Linked DNA regions of Homo sapiens: region 2 is linked to region 1. Evidence: promoter capture Hi-C in 16 types of primary human blood cells and fetal thymus (Javierre and others, 2016). All regions are on one chromosome and are shown on one strand. Each heading gives the region's core, a stretch centred on a gene start or on the middle of the fragment in contact. The rest is flanking DNA. Distances are from core to core; before and after follow the strand shown. Region 1 holds the start of EMX1 (empty spiracles homeobox 1). Region 2 has its middle 26 kb from the start of RAB11FIP5.

The links. Contacts are between HindIII fragments. The CHiCAGO score rates a contact against its expected background, and 5 or more counts as called.
Region 2: a contact is called between a fragment that was not itself captured here and the fragment with the promoter of EMX1 in region 1, in 1 of 17 cell types (endothelial precursors). The highest score is 5.0, in endothelial precursors.

Annotation. Positions count from the first base shown.
Region 1 is chr2:72,914,575-72,919,401 of GRCh38, forward strand. It overlaps EMX1 (empty spiracles homeobox 1), which reads left to right and starts at 2,945. Exons shown (of 3, transcript NM_004097.3): 1 at 2,945-3,798. The coding sequence starts at 3,279. RefSeq lists silencers at 1,431-1,600, 2,741-3,160, 3,231-3,350 and enhancers at 1,692-2,309, 2,310-2,926. The HindIII fragment of the contact is 6,474 bases long and covers 826-4,827 here.
Region 2 is chr2:73,136,208-73,141,034 of GRCh38, forward strand. No RefSeq gene overlaps it. Among named protein-coding and RNA genes, the nearest start is that of RAB11FIP5, 26 kb to the left of the region's middle. The HindIII fragment of the contact is 223 bases long and covers 2,178-2,400 here.

The DNA.
Region 1 (4,827 bases), core at 1,695-4,194:
TAGAGGGAGCAGTATGAGAGTCTGGGAGGAACAGGGCAGGGGAGATGGCACAGGAGAAGATTGGGGTGGGGGTGGGGGCACTGATACTGAATCCAGTACACAGAGGCAGGCTTAGAGACCCCCTGAGGGTGACAAATTCTTCTCTTAACTTGCTGCAGAGGAAACGACAAGAGAATAGGTCCTAAGAGGAGTGAAAATAGAGGAAACTGGCCAAGGGATAAAGATAAGCAGAGCTATGGAAGAAAAGGAAGAAAATTAGGGAATTACTGGAGAGGAAGCTGACAGAAAGGGGCGCTGGGAGAGGAAAAGGTGAGGGAGGACGAAAACGGAACTCCTATCACCCAGCGCATTCCAGCACCCCCTCCCCCTCCCCCGGGAAGTCTGCGACTGCATCCTCACAGGGATGGAATGGGAGTGGAAGCTAGGCCAGGCTGGGACCCCGGGGCTGTCCCAGCCCAACCAAGACGGTGACCAGACTCAAGTTACTGATCCTCCGCTGTTTCTTCATCTGTAAAGTGGAGTTAATGACAGACAGCTGGATGTCAACGTTTTTTGTTGTTTGTTTTAGAGATGGGATCTCCCTGTATCGCCCAGGCTGGAGTGCAGCGGTATGATCACGGCTCACTGCAGCCTCGACCTCCTGGGCTCGAGAGATCTTCCTGTCTCAGCCTCCCGAGTAGAAATGTCAGCATTTGAATGCCTCACAAGGGAAGGTGGTGTAATAAAAGGTCTATTGATTTAGATATGAACAAGTATACCCAGAGCCACACGAATGAAAGGAGGTGGCCAGTGTAGATGCAAGTCTAGGACGGTCGGTAGATTCCAAGCTTCTCTACCTGCCCAGTTAAACAAGTTCGTGGCCCCTGGCCAGCCTCTCGGTGGGGGTCTGCGACAGAACGGGTGGGATTCATTACCAGGCTAGGAGCGCAAGGCCCTCGGGCCGGGTTCAGCTTGCTGGGCTCCTGTCTTGTCTCAGCCCCCAGCACTTGCTCTGTCACCGCAGAGCACAGGCCCAGGCAACGTTTACCCAACTGAACCCGCATCCCTGTGGGAACCTTGTTCCAACAAAATCCCGTCGTTGTCTCCTTCCATATGGAACGAAAATCTCCTTCTGTACCTCTGCCCAGCTCCGCACCCCCGCCCCCTTAGAGATACGGCCTGGTCGGGTCCTGGTCCCCCCCTCGGCGGCGCTTCCACTTTTCCCAGACTGAGGGTGGGGAAAAGGAGGAGGGGGAAGAAATCAGAGGAGGAAAAGTCGGGAGGTAGGGGAGCCGGGAGACAGGAGAGGGGGAAAATAAAGAGCCTGAGACACAAACGAGAGGAAAAGACCATCACAGAAAGCTGGAAATCTCCGGAGAGGCCAGCGAGAACCCGCGCTCCCCACGGATTCCATCATTCCTTCCGAAGGCGCCTCTGCGGTGTCTCAGCCGTGCCAGGCCCCGGGGTTCCCAGGACGCGGAGGAGTGCTGGGTGCGGCCGCCTCGCCTCCCCACCCCTGGCCGCCCCTCCCCACCTCGCCCAAGGGGGCCGGAACGGCGTCGGCGCGCGGGGGCTTTTCGGAGCAGTCGAGTGGAAAATAGACTTTAACCCGCTTTGTGGCGGCCGGGGCGCCCTGAGCGCTCTCCAAACCACGGCTCCCGGCGCTCAGGCGGGCCGCTGCCAAGACCCGGCCTGGAGTCCCCGCAGAGTTGCGCGGCGCACGGACCCCGTGGCCTTGGGGCGTCAGGAGGCCCAACCCAGATCTGCGCGCCCAGGCAGCGCTCAGGCCGCTAGAATGGACCCCGGCAGCGGCGAGGAAGCGGAACTCTCTGCGGCTCCCTCTCCGCAGTGCGCCGGCAAGGTCCAGGTCCCAGCCTCCCCACCGCCGCCCGCGCCCTCCTAGGCCTCGGAGCGGCGCCTTTCTGCGGCCTCGAAGGTGGGGTGGGAAAGTTTGGGGAGTCCCGGCTCTCACAGCCTGTCGTGAGAACTGCCCCCGGGGAATTCGTCCGCCGTACGGAAAAACTGGCCGGAGCAGAGTCGTCCGCGGTTCCGCGGTCGCGGGTGGAAGGTGAAGGTCGAGGGAGGTCAGGCTGCTTCTGCGTGTCCTGACGGCTGGCGTGTTCTCTTGAGATGGGCTCGGGCTACTTGGCCAGCTTCAATTTAAGCCACAGTGTCTCCGAGGCCCTGACCTGGTCCGGCCCGCCGACACTTGAGCCCCCAGAGCCTCAGAGAAGGCGAGGGGGTGGATCTCCCAGTGCCGAGGCCCGCCGTCCTGGTCCAAGCCGGTCGCGGCACCGTGTCTGGGCACTGGAGCTGCTTCCAGCCCCGCGAACAGCTGGAGGGTGGCAGTGGGACCGCTCCGGCGGCTTCTCCCGCGCAGTGCCCCGCCTGGCCCCTTGTGAAGGGAGTGAGCGTCCCCTTTCCAGAGCTGTCCCCCGTGACATCCAGAAAACGCGAAACCTCAGGAACAAGGTCGCAGCTTCAGACCGCGGCCCAGGAGGCCGATGGTGGGTGAGTGGGAGAGTCCCGGAGAGCAGGGGGGCAGAGAGCTGGTTTTCGGGAAAACCAATGTGTTGGACCCCAAACATCCACCCTCCGCTCGGATCCAAGTTCTCTGAGAACTGAAACGACATCCCGGGACGAATGGGAGAGTTAGGCTGAGCTACACACCGGGGAGGGGAGGGTTGGAGTTTAGCCCCAAGCCCTTCGGACGCCTTCTTCGGCTCCCGCGTGGGTTGAGACGGCGGCACGGCCACCAGACTCAGCTAAAGGGCGGAGTCGCGAGGAGAAGCCAGTGGCGAGGGGAGGAGGAGGCCTGGATCTCCCCGCGAAGGCTCCAGTCCGGCTTTTGCCTCCGACTGCGGGCTCCCTCCCCACCCGCCGTCCCTCGCCCCGCCCCGCCCCGCCCCCCACCTTGGGGCAGGTGAGCGGCGGCCAATGGGCGAGCGCGGGGCAGGTGCCCGCTAACTCGCGCCTCGCAGCGCTGGGCGGCCGGGGCTGGGCAGGGCAGTGCGGGGACACCGGGGGCTGGGGTCGGTCCCAGCGGGACTCCGAAAGGAGGGAGACGAGCTCAACCCTCGGGCCTTACTGGCAGCTCGCAGCCTAGCACGGAGCCCGCGCCTGTGCGGGCGCCTGGAGCTGCCCGCTCCGCCGCAGCAGCCGCCGCGCCTGGCCGTACGCTGTGGCCGGACCCCGCGGTCGCTCGCTCACACACCCCTCGCCGCTCCGCGCCTGGCTCGCCCGCGGGGGCCGAGCGCGAGCGGGCGGGCGGGGGAGGTGAGGGGTGCGGGCGGGTGTGCATGTGCCTGGCTGGGTGCACACCCCGCAAGGCGGCGGCGCCAGGACGCGGAGCGCTCCCCAGAGCCCGGCTGCCTCGCACAGCTCCCGCGGCTGCGACCATGTTCCAGCCCGCGGCCAAGCGCGGCTTTACCATAGAGTCCTTGGTGGCCAAGGACGGCGGCACCGGCGGGGGCACTGGCGGCGGGGGCGCGGGCTCCCATCTCCTGGCGGCGGCCGCCTCCGAGGAACCGCTCCGGCCCACGGCGCTCAACTACCCTCACCCCAGCGCGGCCGAGGCGGCCTTCGTGAGTGGCTTCCCTGCCGCGGCCGCCGCGGGCGCGGGCCGCTCGCTCTACGGTGGGCCCGAGCTCGTGTTCCCCGAGGCCATGAACCACCCCGCGCTGACCGTGCATCCGGCGCACCAGCTGGGCGCCTCCCCGCTGCAGCCCCCGCACTCCTTCTTCGGCGCCCAGCACCGGGACCCTCTCCATTTCTACCCCTGGGTCCTGCGGAACCGCTTCTTCGGCCACCGCTTCCAGGGTGAGTGTCCACGCTGTGCCCGCCGAGGCGGCCGGCCGGCGCCCGTGCTGCGGCGATGCGGGGGAGGCTCGGGGGCGCGCGGGGCTGTTTAGAAGTTACTGCCGGGAAGGCTGCAGGTCCGCGGAGGTAGATTCCCAGGCAGGGAAGAGCTGTGCGGCATCCACCCGCGCCTTCGCCGCGTAGGTCTCCCTCCCAGGAAAGCAGGTGGAGACCTCCAGGCTTTTCTAGAAAATATACCAGTTCGGACGCAAGCCCAGGCGCGTCCTCGGAGCCTGTGCTGGCCCTCGCCACAGCCTGCCCAATTCTCTCTCCCAGCTGAGCCAGTCTCAGACCAGAGTACAACTCCTCCCGCTCTCCCTCCGCCCGGCTTAACCTCGCACCACGCTTCTCTCGCAAGTCCACCACCACCTCCGAGACCTCAGCCTTCGCTGGCGCGTCCGGGCGGGGGAAAGTCCATTCGCGTGCCCCAGCTCTGGGGGAAGCAAGGGCAGCAGGGAGGGCGAATCGGAGAGTTAATGTTCAGTGTGGAGGGCCTGGCTGTCTTGGGATGTTTCTCGGCAACCTTGGCCCGACTTCTCCAAGTCACACGTGCCTCTCCTACCCAAGGTGGGGAAGGTTTGCAGTAAGCAAACTGGCTTCCGCCGTTGCTCGCCGCCTTCGGGAGGGAGCCCACCCGGCTGCTGGAATACCGAGGACAGTTTTCCCGGGCAGGGGGCGGGGGCAGAGGGCTTTTAAGGTCGTAGCCAGTCCGAACCCCGGAGTTTGCATCCAGCAATCGGCTTGCTAATAAAGATCCTCCACTGGCCCTACACACACACACACACACACACACACACACACACACACGTTTCAATTATTTGTCTTTCCCGGAGAAAAGAGAGTTGCATTTGTTGGAGTTCGTTTTCTTCCTTGAAATTTGTTGGAGTTTGTTTTTTTCTTTTCTTTTTTTTTAAATTTTATTTTAAAGAGTGGCCTTGATTTGTACAGGCATCACTTTAGTTTCCAGTTTTATTTTGTTAGTGTAGACCA
Region 2 (4,827 bases), core at 1,039-3,538, 220 kb after region 1:
AATTCGATTATTTTTAGTAAGTTTATAGTTATGCAATTATTACAACAATCCAGATTTAGAATATTTTCATCACCCCAAAAAGTTCCCTCATGGTTATCTGCAGTTGGTTCCTACTACCAGATCCAGCCCAGGCAGCCACTGGTCTACTTTCTCTGTATAGATTTGTCTTTTCTGTACCCTTTATATAAATGGATCATACAATATGGCCGGGCGTGGTGGCTCACGACTATAATCCCAGCACTTTGGGAGGCTGAGGTGGGCGGATCACTTGAGGTCAGGAGTTTGAGACCAGCCTGGCCAACATGGCGAAGCCCCATCTCTACAAAAAATACAAAAATTAGCTGGGTGTGGTGGCGCATGCCTGTAATCCCAGCTACTCGGGAGGTTGAGGCAGGAGAATAGCTTGAATGTGGAATGCAGAGGTTGCACTGAGCCGAGATCACGCCACTGCACTCCAGCCGGGGCAACAGAGTGAGACTCTGTCTCAAAAAAGTAAAATAAAATAAACAAAATAAACAAACAAAACATATATATAAGTAAATGGGATCAACAATATGTAGTCTTTATGTCTGGCTTTCACTTAGTATAATATGTTTTTGAGGTTCTTCTGTGTCACAGTGTATATTAGTAGTTCCTTCTTTTTCATCTTTTTTAAATTATTATTATTGTAGAGATAGGGTCTCTCTATGTTGCCCAGGTTGGTCTTGAACTCCTGGGTTCAAGGGATCTTCCCACCCCAGCATCCCAAAGTGCCGGGATTATACGCATGAGCTTCCACGCCTGACCTTTTTACTAAAAAGTAGTTCCTTTTTGGCCGAGCGCGGTGGCTCACGCCTGTAATCCCAGCACTTTGGGAGGCCGAGGCACGCAGATCACGAGGTCAGGAGATCGAGACCATCCTGGCTAACACGGTGAAACCCCGTCTCTACTAAAAATACAAAAAATTAGCCCGGCGTGGCGGCGGGCGCCTGTAGTCCCAGCTACTCGGGAGGCTGAGGCAGGAGAATGACGTGAACCCGGGAGGCGGAGCTTGCAGTGAGCCGAGGTCGCGCCACTACACTCCAGCCTGGGTGACAGCGAGACTCTGTCTCAAAAAAAAAAAAAAAATTAGCCGGGCGTGGTGGCGGGCGCCTGTAATCCCAGCCACTCAGGAGGCTGAGGCAGTAGAATTGCTTGAATCCGGGAGGCAGAGGTTGCAGTGAGCCAAGATCGCGCCACTGCACTCCAGCCTGGCGACAGAGCAAGACTCCATCTCAAAAAAAAAAAAAAAAAGCAGTTCCTTTTCATTGCTGTGTTCTGTCGTGTGAATATACCACATTACCACATTTTGTTGATCCATTAACCTGTTTATGGATATTTGGACTGTTTCCTGTTTGGGGTTATTATGAATAGTGCTGCTCTGAATATTCATGTACAAGTCTTTGTGGACATATGTTTTCATTTCTTTTGGGTAGATACCTAGGAATGGTAAGTTTTTCGTTTTAACTTTTTAAGAAACTGCCAAACTGTTCTTCGAAGTGGCTGTAACATTTTACATTCTCTTTTTCTTTTCCTTTTTTCTTTTTTTTTTTTTTTTTTTTTTTTTGAGACAGGGTCTCCCTCTGTCGCCCAGGCTGAAGTGCAGTGACACAATTTCAGCTCACTGCAACCTCTGCCACCTGGGCTCAACTGATTCTCCTGCCTCAACCTCCCGAATATCTGAGACTATCATGCGCCCCCACACCCGGCTAATTTTTTTGTATTTTTAGTAGAGACATGGTTTCACCATGTGGGCCAGGCTGGTCTCAAACTCCTGACCTCAAGTGATCCACCCACCTCAGCCTCCCAAAGTGCTGGGATTACAAGCATAAGCCACTGTGCCTAGCCCATTTTACATTCTCATCAGAAATGTATGAGGTATCTGGTTTCTCCACATCCTTACCAACACTGTATTAAATATCTTTTCCCACTGAATTGCCTTGGCCAAAAATAAGTAGACCTTACATGTGAGGTCTGAGCTCTAAATTCTAGTCCATTGGCCTGTATGTCTATCCTTATGCCAATACCACATTGTTTTGATTACTGTAGCTTTGTAGTAAGTTTTGAAATCAGAAAGTGTGAGTCCTCCAGTTTTGTTATTTTCCAAGATCATTTTCACTATTCCAGATCCTTTGCATTTCCATATTAATTTTAGAATAAGCTTGTCAATTTCAGCAAAAATGGCAACCAAGATTTTGATAGGTATTGAAAGGGGAAAACAAACAGGTTTTCTATACTCAAAAACACTTCCGAAACCAAATGTCTGGGATTTTTTTCCCCGCACATCAAGCAATTCTTCAGTTCTCTGCAAACATCAACTGGGTGTCCAATGACTCAATTCAACTCTGACAGTAGCTACCTGGAGTTAGTGTGAGACCCCAAAGCTTAAGGGCTCAGTCCCACAATACTGCCCCTGACTTCAAATGCCAATCTCAAGTAATGGGTCCCCAGGTTACCCACACTTCTGTGTGACTTAGCTACAAGTGAGGGTTTCCTACAACCACCTATTCAGATTCAATAATCTGCTGTAATGGCTCGCAGAACTCAGGGAAGCACTTACATGTACGGTTTATTATAAAGGATACAACTCAGGAACAGCCAAATGGAAGAGACAGGGTATGAGGAGGGAGGGGCACAGAGCTTCCATAGCCTTTCAGGCCTCGCACCCTCCCAGCACCTTAATGTGTTCACCAACCTGGAAGATCTCCAAACCCTGTCATTTAGGGTTTTTATGGAAGTCCCATTATGTAGGCATGATTTATTAAATCATTGACCTTCTGTGACTGACATTAATCTTCAGCCCTTCTCCCCTCCCCAGAGGTCAAAGAGATGGGGCTGAAAATTCCAACCCTCTAATTACAAGGTTGGTTCCTCTGTCAACCAGCCCCCATCCTCCAAGAGTCACCTCATTAGCATAAACCCAGGTATGGTTGAAAGGGGCTTATTATGAATAACCAAAGGTGTTCCTCTCACCCCTATCACTCAGGGGAATCACAAGACTTTTAGCAGCTCTGTGCTAGGAACCCGGGGAAGAGACCAAATATATATTTCTTGTTATGTCACAGGATTGCATTAAATTTGCAGATCCATTTGGGCAATATTACAATATTGCTATCTTAACAATAATAGTTTATCTGTTTTGTTTTGTTTTTAGAGATGGGTCTTGCTATGTTGCCCAGGCTGGCTCAAGCAATCCTCCTGCCTTGGCCTCTCTAAGTGCTGAGATTACAGGCGACAACAGTAGTTTGTTGTTGTTTCTATATACAGGATCACGTCATCTGTGGGAAAAAAAGACAGTTTTACTTCTTTTCCAATGTTGATGCCTTTATTCTTATTTTTTGGCCTTATCACACTGACTTGAATCTCCAGGACAATGTTGATTGAAAGTGGCAAGAGCTGACATTCTTGCCTTGTTCCTGATCTCAAGGAGAAACATTCAGTCTTGCATCATTATATGTAATGTTGATGGTAGGTTTCAGTTAGATATGCTTTATCAAGTTAAGAGAGCTCCCTTTTATTCCAAGTTCAAGGGTTTTTTTTTAACCATCAATGGATGTTGGATTTTGTCAAATGTTTTTTCTGCATCTGTTGAGATCATATGATTTTGTCCTTTATTTTATTAATACAGTGATTCATCTTAATTGGTTTTCAGATGTTAACTCAACCTTGCTTTCCTGGGATAAAGCCCACTTGGTCATGGTATACGCTTCTATGTATGTGTTGCTGGGTTTTATTTGCTAATTTTGTGCTAAGGATTTTTACATCTGTGTTCAAAAAGGATGTTGGTCTGTAGCTTTCTTTTCATATGATATCTTTGTCTTGAATCAGGGTAATACTGGCCTCACAGAATGAGTTCGGAAGTGTACTTTCTTCCCCTATTTTCTGAAATAATTTGTGAAAGATTGGTATTATGTGTTTTTAAATTATTTGATAGAATTCACTAGTAAAGTGTTCTGTGACTGGGTTTTTCTTTGTGGGGAGATTTTAAGTACTAATCCCATTATTTACTTGCTATAGGCCTATTCAGACTTTATTTCTTCTTGAGTCAGTTTTAATAATCTGTATCTTTCTGGGAATTTGTCCATTTCATCCAAATTGTTCAATTTGTAATATTTCCTTGTAATTATTTTTGTTTCTGTGTGGTCAGTAGTGATTTTGTAATTTATGTTTTCTCTTTCTCTTGGTCAGTCTAGCTAAAAATTTCTCAATTTTGTTAACCTTTTCAAAAAACAGACCTTTTGTTTTATTGATTTTTCTCTATCATTTTTCTGTTTTCTATTTTTTTTTTTTTTTTTTTTTTGAGACAGAGTTTCACTCCTCTTGCCCAGGCTGGAGTGCAATGGTTCAATGGTGCGATCTCAGCTCACTGCAACCTCTGCCTCCCAGGTTCAAGTGATTCTCCTGCCTCAGCCTCCTGAGTGGCTGGGATTACAGGCATGCGCCACTACATCTGGATAATTTTGTATTTTTAGTAGAGACTGGGTTTCTCCATGTTGGTCAGGCTGGTCTCGAACTCCCGACCTCAGGTGATCCACCCGCCTCGGCCCTCCAAAGTGCTGGGATTACAGGTGTGAGCCACTGCGCCCGGACTTCTGTTTTCTATTTCTTATTTCCACTCTAATCTTTATTTTCTTTCTGCTGTTTGCTTCAGATTTAATTGTTCCTTCTTTTTCCAGTTGCTTAAAGTAGAAGCTTAGATTGTTGATATGAGACCATTCTTCTTTTCTAATCTAGGTATTTATAGCTATACAGTTCCCTTAAATGCTGCATTTGCCGCATCCCATACATTTTGATACGTTGCATTTTCTT